Linked DNA regions of Homo sapiens: all the other regions are linked to region 1. The links are contacts of gene promoters, found by promoter capture Hi-C in human tissues and cell types (Jung and others, 2019). All regions are on one chromosome and are shown on one strand. Each heading gives the region's core, a stretch centred on a gene start or on the middle of the fragment in contact. The rest is flanking DNA. Distances are from core to core; before and after follow the strand shown. Region 1 holds the start of DLX6 (distal-less homeobox 6). Region 2 overlaps SLC25A13 (solute carrier family 25 member 13). Region 3 overlaps LOC105375410 (a long non-coding RNA gene). Region 4 overlaps LOC105375411 (a long non-coding RNA gene).

Evidence for each region. Contacts are between HindIII fragments. The study calls those that stand out against the background at their distance.
Region 2: a fragment that was not itself captured here is called in contact with the fragment with the promoter of DLX6 in region 1 in 1 of the 25 tissues and cell types used here (dorsolateral prefrontal cortex).
Region 3: a contact is called between a fragment that was not itself captured here and the fragment with the promoter of DLX6 in region 1, in 3 of the 25 tissues and cell types used here (mesendoderm cells, neural progenitor cells and small bowel).
Region 4: a contact is called between a fragment that was not itself captured here and the fragment with the promoter of DLX6 in region 1, in 1 of the 25 tissues and cell types used here (neural progenitor cells).

Annotation. Positions count from the first base shown.
Region 1 is chr7:97,003,495-97,007,122 of GRCh38, forward strand. It overlaps DLX6 (distal-less homeobox 6), which reads left to right and starts at 2,059. Exons shown (of 3, transcript NM_005222.4): 1 at 2,059-2,919. The coding sequence starts at 2,484. The region is part of intron 1 of DLX6-AS1 (DLX6 antisense RNA 1); the gene reads right to left. RefSeq lists an enhancer at 776-1,497 and a silencer at 2,810-2,909. The HindIII fragment of the contact is 17,411 bases long and covers 1-3,628 here.
Region 2 is chr7:96,301,916-96,305,543 of GRCh38, forward strand. The region is part of intron 1 of SLC25A13 (solute carrier family 25 member 13); the gene reads right to left. Among named protein-coding and RNA genes, the nearest start is that of SLC25A13, 18 kb to the right of the region's middle. The HindIII fragment of the contact is 7,350 bases long and covers 1-3,628 here.
Region 3 is chr7:96,380,916-96,384,543 of GRCh38, forward strand. All of the region lies in intron 1 of LOC105375410 (a long non-coding RNA gene), which reads left to right. Among named protein-coding and RNA genes, the nearest start is that of SLC25A13, 61 kb to the left of the region's middle. The HindIII fragment of the contact is 6,333 bases long and covers 1-3,628 here.
Region 4 is chr7:96,451,540-96,455,167 of GRCh38, forward strand. The region is part of intron 1 of LOC105375411 (a long non-coding RNA gene); the gene reads left to right. Among named protein-coding and RNA genes, the nearest start is that of SLC25A13, 130 kb to the left of the region's middle. The HindIII fragment of the contact is 4,279 bases long and covers 1-3,628 here.

The DNA.
Region 1 (3,628 bases), core at 809-3,308:
CAAACGCCGCTGACCTGGGAACTCGGAGGAAACTCGCGGGCAGCGAGCTTCAGGTCTTCTGATACATTGAAGGAAAGAAAGAAAGACAGAAAAAGAAAAAAACAAACTGTCCTGGAGATAGCTAGACATCCAGGGCTGGGAGCTGGGAAAATCAATTGGCATAAGCCGCTGCCGGCGGGCTTCGCGCAACGTAAAAAATAAAGTCCAAGCTGCTCCATCTGCAGCCACCCTTTTCTGGAGTTAAAGGGGCAAGCGGCACCTTTTCTCTATTTCTCAGTTTCCTTCGGTCCTGTAACTTATGGAGTCCAGAAGAAGTAGGATATACAGAAGTCCTCAGTAGTTTTCCCAAAGGGAGACACTGTCTCCTTCCCGCAACCTCCAGACACTGCAGTACAGGGTTGTTAGATATTAGATAGTACGTTTCTCCGTGTGGGCAAAGGCTCGCGGCTTAGGTCTCTAAGCAGATCGAAAGTCGGGGTCCAGACCGAGAGGATCTTCAGGTCTCGTCCACCCAATCTCAAGCCTCTGGAAGGGCGGGCTGCCGGCGACCTCCTCCAGTCCCGGGACCCGGAACCCGGGACCCTGGACGCCGGTGCGGGCGGGCCTGCCCTCCTCTGTGCCTGGCCCCCAGTCTGGCCCTCCTACCTGTTGACCAGGCCTGAACCACGCACCGGGGCTCCGCTGTCTCTGCTTGGCTGCCTTAACCTGCGTGGGTCTGGAGACCGGAGGGAGAAAGGCTAGATCCGCAGCCTTGGGCTGCTCCGAACTTAATGTCTTTCCCCAGTCCATCTTTGAAAGAGAAGTGGTTCTACCACCTGGATGTGCGGATATAAATCCCCTTGCAAATAATAAATGGATTAATAATAACAAGGTATGAAGTTCTTTTTATAGAAAAAAAGGAGAGAATTGAAACTAAATGCGGCAGTTAGACAACCATTTTGATAAGAGGATAATTGAGGCGACACTGGTGTATAATTAGAGGATAATTTATGCTATATCCACTTTTATTCCACCTCCCAAAATAAACCCAGTCCATAATCATTACAGGCAAATTGTTCTGAATTTTATAGCAGCAATTTGAACAAAGTACTGCAGTTAATCATGGGAGATTTTTGTGTATTCCTGATTAGAACTCTAATTGCCTCCTTCCAGAAAGTAAAAATAACTGTAAAACGACTCTATTTTTATCATTAACAATGTTGACAATAAAATAAAATCAATTGGAATTGTAATCGAGAGACAAATTTAGGACGAAGGCACTTTTACTTGGGTAGTTTATATTGTAATCAAGATTTGCCAAACCACTAACCGCATGTATCATTTGCATATATTTGAAAGCATTACAGTAGCTTCTGTTTTCAATAGGAAAAAATGCATTACTGTCAGTCCTCCAACGATTCGTTTTCAGAACACGCTGCTGCGTTCTGAAAAGAAAAAAAAGACGCCCCCCCCCCCCACAACCTTTTGTACAATATATAAGAAATACGGCCTGAAACGGCAGGGACCGAGCCAGAACAGGGTCTGATTTTTCTTTTTCTGTACCACCCCCCAGTGGGGTGGAGCCCAGGTGTGAGGGTTCGTCTTCCTTCTGTGGTTTCAATAAAATACGTCTAGAAAAATCCACGGTGACAAGGAGCTCCCACAAGAGTGTAGTAGGACCAGAGTGGCAGGGACGTCAAGAAAGGGGGGCCTGGATTTAATGCGGGGGTGGGGTCACTGCTTCTAAGCACAGGCAACCTACAAGGGTGCAAAGGGATTGAAAGAGAGCAGCCCCCAGTTGGCTGTTTCAAGGCTGAGATATTGGCAACTGGGGCTCCGGGATTTGGGGCACGAGCTGCGGCGGGAAGCATCGGCGGCCGGCCGGGCAGAGGCGCCTCCCTCCCCAACGGCCCCGGGCGCCACACAGCGCGGCCCCCGGCTGCAGCTCCGGCTGGGATTGGAACTGCGGAAGGTAGGCGAAGAACTCTGCAAGTCGCGCACACGCCAGTAGAAGCCGTGCGCCTGTGACGTCAGGGGGCGACTGACCAATGGGGAGGCACTGCCCTTTGGAGACAAACCATTCGACTCGTGGCGTCTGCATCAAGTCTGAAAGCAGACGCGCAACTTTCGCAGAATCCACCTTAAAATCTCTGCCTTAAACTGCACCAGCCCCCAAAAAATCCAAGGGGGGAAAGCAGGCGGGGGGAGAGCAGATTCCCCCCTCCCCCTCTCCTCTCCCATCCCTCCTCCTTCCTCCTCCCTTTGAGTTAACAAGGCCCCGCTCACTATATCTCTTTATATTAAATATATATATATATTAGAGAAGAGCGAGGGAGAGGGAGAACCACCTCCACCCCCCTCTTTAAATTCTTTTTTTTTTTTTTTTTTTTTTTTGCAAGGATCCAAAGAGCTAAGGTGGCTGCAGAGGGGAGAGCGGCGCGAGCCAAGTGGGGGAGGGTGGAGGAAACCCGGGAGAAGGCTTTCTCCAGCCCCCAAAGTTTTTGATGATGACCATGACTACGATGGCTGACGGCTTGGAAGGCCAGGACTCGTCCAAATCCGCCTTCATGGAGTTCGGGCAGCAGCAGCAGCAGCAGCAGCAACAGCAGCAGCAGCAGCAGCAGCAACAGCAACAGCCGCCGCCGCCGCCGCCGCCGCCGCCGCAGCCGCACTCGCAGCAGAGCTCCCCGGCCATGGCAGGCGCGCACTACCCTCTGCACTGCCTGCACTCGGCGGCGGCGGCGGCAGCGGCCGGCTCGCACCACCACCACCACCACCAGCACCACCACCACGGCTCGCCCTACGCGTCGGGCGGAGGGAACTCCTACAACCACCGCTCGCTCGCCGCCTACCCCTACATGAGCCACTCGCAGCACAGCCCTTACCTCCAGTCCTACCACAACAGCAGCGCAGCCGCCCAGACGCGAGGGGACGACACAGGTGAGAGGCCGCTGGGGCAGCTCGCTTCTCCCGCCTCCCGACTGCCCCCTACCCCGCCCGCCCGCTCACTTCCTCGACGCCCGGGCCTCCGCCGGCCCCCTCCCCCAGGCGGCCCCGCGCGCCCTTGGCCGGGCCCCGTGCGCGCCCGCTCGCCTGGCGCCTGCCTGCCGGCCTCTCCCAGCCGGGCCCCTTCCCGCCGCCGCGGACCCTCAGCTTCCGACGCGCAGTTCGGGCTGAGTCCCGGGCCCGGCGCAGGCTTCGTTCGACGAGTTAGTCCACACTGCGCTCTCCAGCCTCCTGGGTCTGTGCGCCCTTTTCCTTGCTCCTTCCCTCCAGGCTGTAACCCACGTTTGACCCGGCTGGGGACATTTCTGGGCCGGAACTGGGGAGCGTGTTTTGCTTCCCAGCCCACGCTGGGCAGGCAGTGGCCTACTTTGCGTGGGGCGCCCCGTGCTCCTCAGTGACTCGGAGGGAAGCTGGCCTGGCTTTCGCTCTGGTTAAACTAGTAACAGTCAGGCTCTTTCCAGTGGGCTTTAAAGTGTCCCTCACCTTCATCCCTGACCGGGCCCCCTATCTAGCTTTTCGCTACAGTGTTGGCTGCTCCTTTGTTCGTGGAGGGGAAGCAAAGAACCTCGGGCTGATGGTTCTCAGCACCCGAGGGGGACAAAGTTGCCGTGAGAGGCGCAGCCTGCTCGTGGGCTGGTCTGAG
Region 2 (3,628 bases), core at 527-3,026, 700 kb before region 1:
CCATGCCTGGCCCAGAAAGTGGCAATGTTGGAACAGAAAAACTCTATGCATAGTTTCTTCCATAAACTGGGAAAAGTCTATCATTATTTAAATTTAGTATGGAAATTTCAGGTCGATTCAATGAGTCTATGCTCCACAGGAGCAAAATTTGAGAATCACTGAATATGTAAAACTTTTTGACAAGATAAACACTGGTTATAATTGTGTAAGTCATCAATAGCGTTTGCAAAACACATACTAGGTAGGTACATCCTAGAAATAAAAAGAAAAACAATAACACAATTTCAAGAACTGGTGTTTTTAAAAAGGCAGGGGGTAGGGGAGAACATGGCAAGAAGAATACAAAAGTCATCTTTCAGGACAAATGAATTCACTCTCCTAATATGAGTTAGAGCAGCCATAGGTAGGGGGTCACCAGAAAATTCCTACCTGTAGGAATATTTTTTAAACAGACTTTCTTACAAGGGAATCAAGCCACAGTTGCAGGCTCATTACTTTAACAAATCACAGTGGTATAGAATGGTGTATTCAAAATAGTTGTCAGATCTAAGAGAGGATGGTGGGGAAGAATATAAGAAAACCTACACGAAAATAAGAAATGCTAATTTGAAAAATAAAATGCAAAGAAAAGCAAAGCTCTCCTCTTTCACTGGGAGGCTGTAGAGATGTGAGACCACCATCTCTGTGAGGGCACCTTACTCCTCAGATCAACCCCAACTCTGGCAAAGATCAGGAAACAAAGTAGATTCTCTGGAAGTGCTGAATATAGAATAAAGTCTTTCAGGTCAGTAAAAATCTGACATTTACAATGAAAATAGGCAACTCTCTTCAGACCAATGGTTCTCAAAGTGTGGAGACCATCAGCATCACCTGGGAACTTTTAAAAATACAAATTATCACACCCATCCCAGACCCAAAGAATCAGAAACTGGGTGAGGCCCAGCAATCCCCTATGATTTAACAAGCCCTCCAGGTGACCCTGATGCAGTTAAAGTTTAAGAACCACAGCTTTAGATAATGTCCAATTTTAATGTACGGATTATAAGATGTAGGTTCTCAGTCCTCGCTGCATATTCAAGTCCCCTGAGGTGCTTTTAGGTTTTACAAAACCCAAACCATACCAAAGGTCAATCAAATGAAAATTTCTAGAATGGATATCTTTAGAGCTCCCTCAAGAAATTACCATGTGTGGGTGGACTGAGAACAACTGCGTTAGGACCCGAGGCCCAACCTCAGCTGCTACGTCACCAACTGTACAGCACAGCCCTTCCTCAGCAATACTTCCCCAGTCACCCTCCCAAACCTGAAACATCTGAAAGCCAAGACAAGCACAGACTTACACTGAAAATTCTACTATCATAAAGTAAATATTTGCCTTAGATAAGAACTACAAACTCAAAGAGGTAGCTCATCAAAAGCAAGCTTCTGGGTGTGTGTGTGGGTGGGTGGGTGTAAATAAGCATGCAGTGACAAGCAGGAAACGGAGAGAGAAGGAGAAACAGTCCTGCATAGTCTTTTGAACCTGAGGAAATAGTGCAGTAGATGGCCCTGAATCCCAAAGAAAAGTATTCTTGGGTGTAACCTAACCACTTAGAAGCAGGGGCCCACCCTCCTTCTTTATCTTCCTATACTAAAGACACTAGAAGGCTGAAACTACAATTCCCAGACTCCCTTGCTGCTATGCGGCCTATGTGCCATCAATTAGATGAAATTGAGTGAGATTTGGCAAATGTTTGGGAGTTGGGGGGCACCTTCTGCTGTTTCTGCCAAGCACGCACCATTGCTGGAAGTGTCTAGTTTTCCTGTGGCAACCTCCTGCCCTCCCATGTCAGTGGCCACATGGTCCTGAAACACTCTCCACTTGGCAGGCAGCATTGTGACTGCACAGGAGGTCACTGCTGTCTTGGTGGCCTGCTCTGCTTGAGACTCTAGACGTCATTCTTTAGAGCTCAACCTCAAGTCTGTTTCTTTACCTTCCCAACAAATTGTGTAAGCCATTTAATATCCTGTAATAAATCTCTCTCTGCTTAAACCAGCTAGAGTAGATTCTGTTCTCTGCGAGTGAGCCCTGACTGATACAATCAGTAATTGCAAAAGAAAGTTTGGAATTCCCTAAAACCACAGTTACCATTAACTTGAGAAGAAGAAAAAGGTATCTCAAACTTAAGAAAATAATTTTTTATTGAAACCACTGAGTCACTCATCCTTCATCCTACAGTTTCCCTACGACCTAATAAATGAAGAGCAGTCATTATGGGAAAAGTTACTGAAATATAAATTAGTACAAAGACAAGATGCCCTGTTAAGCATTCTTCAAACCACAACATTTCTATGTAATCAGCTGGCAAAACTTCATTTCACTCAACAGTTGACTTATAAAGTATCAGACACCACAAATGTTAACCCACTGGGTAATTACATCAGCGAGTCATTTCAGAGGCACTAGAGATGTTTATCAGAAGGATTCAGTAGGTTGTGATGTATGTTAGATTTCACTCTGCTCTGTTGTAGAACATAAACTAGAAAGCCATCATCATTAAAATTCTGATATTAAGAGGCAGAGTATAACAGTTAAGAATGAATGGTGGTGTTTTAGCTGGGTTCTGTTATGCCAAAAGAGCCTGAAACATACTAGTTCTGGATTTTACTATTATTGTTATTAAGCTGACCTCTACCTGCTAGATGGGAGTAGCAACCCCTTCCCCAACAAGCTGCAACAACCAAGAAACTGTCTCCAGAGGTTGCTAAAAGAAATCCTCTTGGGGGCCAAACTACCCCACCCCCCAGCTAACAACCACTCCTTAGATGGTGATGCTCTACTTGCTCATCCATGCAACACAATCACCTATGGGAAAGCTGCAGTGTACTAGGCCCAGCGCCAGGCACCGAGGAGAAAACACCCAATAAATCAGAAACCCTGCCCCAAGCAGGGAAAGCTGACTTATCGACAAGTGGTTGGTACAAAATGTATGATGATACATGCTATCATAAGGCAGAGTGGCAGGAGAATTAATACACTAATTCTGCTAAAGTTGAGGGTCACAGAGGCAGTCTTTGGAGCCGGATCACTTATTATTAATTATAACGATAACAATGACCAGCTAACTTTTACTGGGTCCTTAACTCTATGCCAGGCATTATGCTAATGGCTTTTTATCTTATTTCATTTATATACTGTATCATTAAAACTCTTTAAGGGGAAGAGTGAGTAATATCCCCACTTTTCAAATAAAGAAGCTGAGGTACTAAAGAGTCTTAAATGAATACCAGTAGATCACACAGCCAGAAATGACCCCTGAGCTCAGGTTATTTAGACACTAATTATAATACCTGAAGGATATTCCCAGAGTTTAGCAAGCAAAAAGGGGGACTTTAAAGCTACCTTTAAGAATGGAGACACTGGACAACATTGTAATTGTAACCAATTTAAAATAAATTCTTTTTAATTTGGCATTATGATTCATAAATGCCCATGGCTCAGTAGAAGGCAGAAATGCCTAGTGCAGAATATTATTCTCCAGTATTTTATGCTGAATTCAGTCTCAATTTTTGTAAGCATCAAGGTTACAGTATAATTAGGAACCAGCTGCAATTGTAATTACCACGCCCAATATAATTTGTTACATAT
Region 3 (3,628 bases), core at 844-3,343, 620 kb before region 1:
TTTTTGGTCAAAGTCTCTACTTAACCAAAAAAAAGAAAAGTTTTTATTTTTGTTCAGAACAAAAATCCAGTGTCAACAAAAACAGAACACAAAAGAACACATTCCTTTATATTTTGAAGTTTGGTCACTGCTGCAGAAAGAACAGCCTGATATTGGTGTATCAACACAATGGCAAATAAGATGTTAAAAAACCTAGACCTTTATTATGAATCCTTGACATCTTTTATCGAACAGGAGAATCATACATACAGTACAAGGAAATCTTCAGATTCATTAATTCCCTCAATAGAACCTAAAAAAAATGAGAATTGTATTACATTTTATCAATAGCTTACCCACTACATATGACGGCATAAAAATAGTCACTATGCCATCATTTTTTGAAAAAGAGAGGCAAATGTATATGGCGAAGAGGTAAGAGGATTTATGGATCACATTTTAAACACAAAGTGATAAAATTATCAGCTTGTGGTCTATTTTTAAGCTCATAAGTGGAATTTAGGTTGTTACTAGGGAACAGATATTGAGCACAGGTGAGCCACCTTTACCTTGGGTTCCTAAATGGCCACCATGCAGCAGAGGTACCATCTGGCAACATGTATCTCAGGCTGGGACATGACCAAAAAGTCAATTTATTTGTTTCTTTAAGCCTGTAAGCTTTGGTTGTGGGAGATCCTCTTTGATGCAGCAGTTTAGCCTTACCCCGATGAACATATCTGTGTACATGTGCCTTCACTATGCAGGACACAAACTGATTGAATAATAACATTACAATCGCATCTTGCAACAGGCATATTTTATGTTTTTTAAGAGACAGTTTCATGGTGTTCCCGCTTTTGTATGTTGAAAGAATCTCAACTAGGAAGTAATTCCTCCACAAAAAAATGGAAATTTAGATCTTTGTTTCTCACATTGCAGATGATAGTCCTGATAAGGCTGAAGACTCAGCTCAGGCTAGATATACTGGGATCTATGATAGAAATGTGTTATCACAAAGAATAAGTGGCTTGAAGAATCATTCTAGGTGTCGCAAGATCCTGAAAGCGGAGGAAATAAAAGCAGTAATCAGAATGCACTGTGGAATATATTCTGTATAGTTCAGTAAAATTTATATTCTTCAGTTCTCTTTGGAGAATGAGTTTGGTCATTCTTTTTTTTTTTTTTTTTTTTTTTTTTTTTTTTTTTTTTTTACAGGGTCTCACTCTGTCACCCAGCCTGGTGTGCAGTGGCATGATCTCAGCTCACTGCAGCCTCAACCTTCCCTACTGAAGTGATCCTCTCACCTCAGCTTCCTGAGTAGTTGGGATCACAGGCACATGCCACTACACCCAGCTAATTTTTTTGTAGAATTTTTTGTAGAGATGGGGTTCTGCCCTATTGCTCAGGCTGGTCTCAAATTGCTGGGCTCAAGTGATCTGCCTGCCTCAGCCTCTCAAAGTGTTGGGATTACAGGTGTGAGCCACAGCACCTGGCTGGTCATTCTTCAAAAATCACTTTGTTGTCTTCATAAAGCTTATGTACTGCAAAAAATATATATTATACTTTTGGCTCCTAAATTATTCTATTATCATAAAGAGTCTAATGACAAGTGTAAGAAAAACAGCAGTATCTCTTAAGGATTTCCCTTTTAACCTGGTTTATTTTATATGAAGCATATTCCAGTGAATCTCAGAATCATTACTGTTTTAGGTGCAGAAAAGATGAGAAAATCTGGGGCACTACCTTCCCCACTTTTCAATTTATAGGTAAAGAACCTAAGGCAGAGAGAGAGGGGGCAATTTGCCCGAGTCTCCTAGTTCACCATCTGAACCTAGTTTCTCATCCATTTAGAGCACAGATGAGAAACACCTTAGTGTGTGTTACTGGGGCAGGATTTATGCACAGATAAAATAGGTAGCTGTCAATGTGGCACCATATGAAGTGTTCTTGGAAGAGCCAATATTCTCCTGCCATTTTGCCAGGAGGGCTGAAGTAGCTGCTCCTAATGAAAGACACACACACCACGTGGGAAGTATCACATTAAGTAGTAACCCGCTGATAACATGACCACATACACAAAGTTTTAAGGTTGGCTTTTTAATGCTGAGAAAGAATATAAGATAGGAGCCTGGGCACGGTGGCTCATGCCTGTAATCCCAGCACTTTGGGAGACCGAGGTGGGTGGATCATGAGGTCAGGAACTTGAGACCAGCCTGGCCAATATGGTGAAACCCCGTCTCTACTAAAAATACAAAAATTAGCTGGGTGTGGTGGCATGCACCTGTAGCCCCAGCTACGCGGGAGGCTGAGGCAGAAGAATCGCTTGAACCTGGGAGGTGGAGGTTGCAGTGAGCCGAGATCACACCACTGCACTCCAGCCTGGGTGACAGAGTGAGACTCTGTCTGAAAAAAAAAAAAAAAAAAAAAAAAAAAAAAAAGAATGTAAGATAGGAAAGATAAGCTGTGATGGTGAAGAGGCAATGGTAGCAAATGCTCAGTGTCTGCAGTAAGGATGAGAGAATCTTCAAAACTAATTATGTAAAATGTACAAGATTCTCTGAGGGCCTTGGGCCCCTGGAAATTGATACCCCCTCAAAATAGAGCAGCACTAATAAAAGGAGGTTTGAATGGCAGCAAATATGAAATATGTCACTTGTATAATTTTGCTTAGAAACAGGTTTTTATATAAACAAAAGACGATTAGAGTTGTGTAAATGTGCTTTCTGCACTTCTCATTGGACATAACATAAAGAGAAGGTGTGGAATTAACCATGGTTTATGGCACTAGTGAATCCAATTTATTCACTTTCATAAGACTTAAAAGTTCATGAATGTTTTCAAATAATTCTTTCAATAATCTTTGAGAAAAGTATTGTAATTGTAATTATAATTATTCATATTGCATTTATTCATTTATTTGTTAAACCAGCTAATATTTTTTGAACACCTTTCATGTGCCAGGCTAGAGATACCTGATGAACAAAAGAAACAGTAATCTCTGTCCTTGGAGACCACAGAGGTATGGGGACCTTCTTATATATAACTTTGGAGGATATTCAGCTACCTAGGACTCAAAAAATATCAGGGCATTTGAAAAAAGAGGTTGAGAGGAGACTTTCTTTTAGAAGACCACATGAAGTCTAGTTGGGAACATATATCATTCAAGTACATATCTGGAAAGTTTCATAGTTTGAGAAAGTGGATGTAGGAAATGCCAGCGAGACTGAGGTCTTGAATTCAATTCTGTCCAAACTAAGATTATTACCCTTGAAACAGATTTGTTGCAATATGGCTTAATTCATATGCCCATGCTAATAATCTGATCGCTCCCTATTTCTATTTTATTATTATTACCAAACTTATGTTACCATTCAGGAGCTAGTGTTACATTATAGGATCATTTGTAAAGCCAAACTGAAGGTTTTCAGACACAGGAGACCTAGGAATGTGAAAAGCCAACCCAAGTCTCCTGGAAGCAAGAAAAACCCACAACTGAGCTAAACTTTGCAAAAGCCAGCAAGCTGAGCAGGCATGTCATATCGGGGAGCAAGCCAAACACATTTCCCAGATCTGCAAAGAAACCAGTGATCATCCATCAGCAGAGAGAGAGAGTCTTTGGTTAAATGGGATGGCGAGCAAGCCATCAGAA
Region 4 (3,628 bases), core at 322-2,821, 550 kb before region 1:
CCAAAGGCACAGGATGGCTTTTGCCTGGGGTAGGGAAAAGGCTGAAGTTGCCCTGATATATTCTAGCTACAGAATATGCCTGCTTGGTTCCTAAGATGCTGAATGAGTTGGGAATCACGGACAGAAATCTAAGGGCTGGGGGACTACAAATGAACGTTTTGATTTCTGTGGTGTGTTTCAAGATATTTGTGTGATATTGTTCAGAAAATTATATTTCTTTTGAAAATTGCATGGAAATATTTGTATAGTTTAACAATACAATTGATTGGTTTTAATGGAATACACACTGCCATTTCCCTGGGAGCCTGTTCTCTTGGCAGAAGTATGGTTGAAACGTGGGGCATATTTCCAGAAAGATTGCTAGACAGTACTAGAACTTGAAACAGAAGCTGGATATATCAAACCAATGTGTGTGTTAATGGTTAAGACCCAACATACACATAGGCCTTACTGACACAAGCATATACACATTTACATATTATGTTAATTTAGCCACAGCACCTTGCTTAAACCTTACTTTTTCATAAGTTTCTTGCTGCAGCTCCTAGGTGGGTTCCTGGGACCTGTGTGAGTGCCATTAGCTGCATTCCCATGGCTTCCACACAGCAGGACAATCTATTATTTTATCAGCCCTATTCAACCTTACAAAAAGATCTGTTTCTACGTGGGCTGATACTGTAAGTGCTGATTTCAGACCAAGGCCTGCTGCTCTACTAGCTTTTTCTTTCTGTGCCTGAATGTGGAACCCCCAGAAACAAGGGGATGAATGGAAATGCAAACAGACTCCCAGCTCCAGCAGATGCAATGATTGCTTCACAAGTTTCATTTGTACAGAGGTCAAAAAGAAAGAGTAAAGGTGGGCCTTTAGTGAAGAAATATAAACATGTTATAGCAAATGCTTTTTGTATCATAGGAGTAACCTGGACTGACATAAACAGATATTGTTCTCACTGATCTTTAAAATAAAATTTTTAATGTTTAACTTTTAACTTTCTGAAAATTCGTGTTTATACACTGTAAGAGAGCTGCCTGAACTTGGTTGTGTCATGCTTTCCAATGGATTTCTAGCTTTTGAATATACTTTAATTTGAAAAATCTTTTCATGAATCCTTGACTTGTTTGCATGGTGATCAAATAACTGGAGCTCACTTGATAAATGTCAACCATGTACATTCATAATTGTTCGAATCTGTTTCCCTTCCCCCAGATCAAGCTTAATCTGTAGTTGCAGGTCTTCAGGGTGGGGATGGGGAAGTTTAGCTGCCTTTTCAGTTTTTCCCTCCTTGTAGCAGTCCAAAGTAAAAGGAGGCAAGGCTGGATCAAGAGGGCTAATTTGCACTTTGGGAGGCAGAGGTGGGTGGATCACCTGAGGTCAGGAATTCGAGGCCAGCCTGGCCAACATAGTGAAACCCTGTCTCTACTAAAAATACAAAAATTAGCCGGGCATGGTGGCATGTGCCTGTAGTCCCAGCTACTTGGGAGGCTGAGGCAGGAGAATCGCTTAAACTTGGGATGCTGAGGTTGCAGTGAGCCAAGTTCACACCACTGCAGTCCAGCCTGGGCAACAGAGTGAGACTCTGCCAAAAAAAAAAAAAAAAAAAAAAAAAAAAAAGAGGACTAGTTCAGTGTCTCCTAACAAGTTCAAGTGTGTCTGTTTGAGTCTGTAATCCCAACACTTTGAGAAGCCAGAGCAGGCGGATCACTTGAGGTCAGGAGCTCGAGACCAGCCTGGCCAACATGGTGAAAACCCATCTCTACTGAAAATACAAAAATTAGCCAGGCATGGTGTTGTGCGCCTGTAATCCTAGCTACTTGGGGGGCTAAGGCAGGAGAATTGCTAGAACCTGGGAGACAGAGGCTGCAGTGAGCCGAGATCATGTCACTGCACTCCAGCCTGGGCGACAGAGTGAGACTCCATCTCAAAAGGAAAAAAAAAAAAAGAATTTGGGTACTTGATACTTCTATATTGTGGCCAAAATCAGGCCAAAAATATGAGGTCACCTTTTTATGTTGTAGAATGATTTGGGAAACTTTTCATTTATCTACTTCTAAAAATAAGTACATTTTATTCTTTTTTTTTTTTTTTTTTTTTTGAGACCGAGTCTCGCTCTGTTGCCCAGGCTGGAGTGCAGTAGCACAATCTTGATCTCGGCTCACTGCAACCTCTGCCTCCCGGGTTCAAGAGATTCTCATGCTTCAGCCTCCCAAGTAGCTGGGATTACAGATGGTGGCCACTACGCCTATGTTTTTTATTTTTAGTAGAAACGAGGTTTTGCTATGCTGGCCAGGCTGGTCTTGGACTCCTGGCCTCAGGTGATCCATCAGCCTCTGTCTCCCAAAGTGCTAGGATTACAGGCATGAACCACTGTGTCTGGCCTAAAAATTAGAACATTTTAAGTAGCATTAAATATATTTGTTCCTGAGAGTTTTGCTGGAACTTTAACAGTTTTTGTTCTGATGCTTTTTAATAGAGGAAGGGCTTATTTTTGGTCTTCTTTTACAATTTTCTTCCAGTTAGGCTCTTGATTTATTAATTTTTCTTCCCTTTTTAAGACTCTTTCTCTTTTTAGAAGTATATTTCACATACAGTTAAGTGCAAAAACCCGAAGCAGACAGCTTGATGATTTTTACCTATGTATAAACACAGGTAACCTCCACACAGAGCAAGAAACAGACATTTCCAGCATCCCAGCAGGCTCTCTCATTCTGCTTCCAAAAGTAACTGTTATTCTAACCTCTATCACATATAGTAGTTTTATTTGTTCTGGAGCTTCTATAGATAGAAACATCCAGCATGTCCTCATTTGTGTGTCTGGCTTCTTCTGCTCGTTGAGTTTCTGAGATTCATCTACAGGAGTGCAAAAGTGTTTGCAAATATACAAAGAATTACTGAATATGTTATTGCACCGAATCAGAGGAAAATACCCGAGAAGAGACTATAACCAAAATCGCATTAATCAGAACAGAAAACTCAAGATAAGGAAAGATGAAGTAAAGGAAGTAGCAAACACACTGGACTTATTAATTATATATTTGTGTGCAAGTGGATGAGAAATAACACCAACTAAAATCCAGTGATCTTCTAGTTCAGTAAAATTTCTAGGGGTCCAGTGGTGTGGGGTCTGTCAAGATGTTCCTTCTAAGATGAAGGATAAGTTGCTGCATTTGGCCCTTCCTACAACCAATAAAGTGGCACAGTGCCTAGTGGGCCTATTTGGATTTTGGAAGGAACACTTCCCTCATTTGGGTGTGGTACTCTGGCCCATTTACTGAGTGACCCCAAAGGCTGCCAGTTTTGAGTGGGGTCCAGATCAATAGAAGGCTCTGCAACAGGTCCAGGCTGCTGTGCAAGGTGCTCTGCCACTTGGGCCACATGACCCAGCAGATCCAATGGTCCTCGAGGTGTCAGTGGCAGATAGGGATGCTGTTTGGAGCATTTGGCAGGCCCCGATAGGTGAATCACAGAGGAGACCTTTAGGATTTTGGAGCAAGGCCCTGCCATCTTCTGCAGATAATTACTCTCCTTTTGAGAGACAGCTCTTGGCCTGTTACTGGGCTTTGGTGGAAACTGAATGTTTGACTATGGGTCATCAAGTCACCATGTGACCTGAACTGCCTATCACAAATT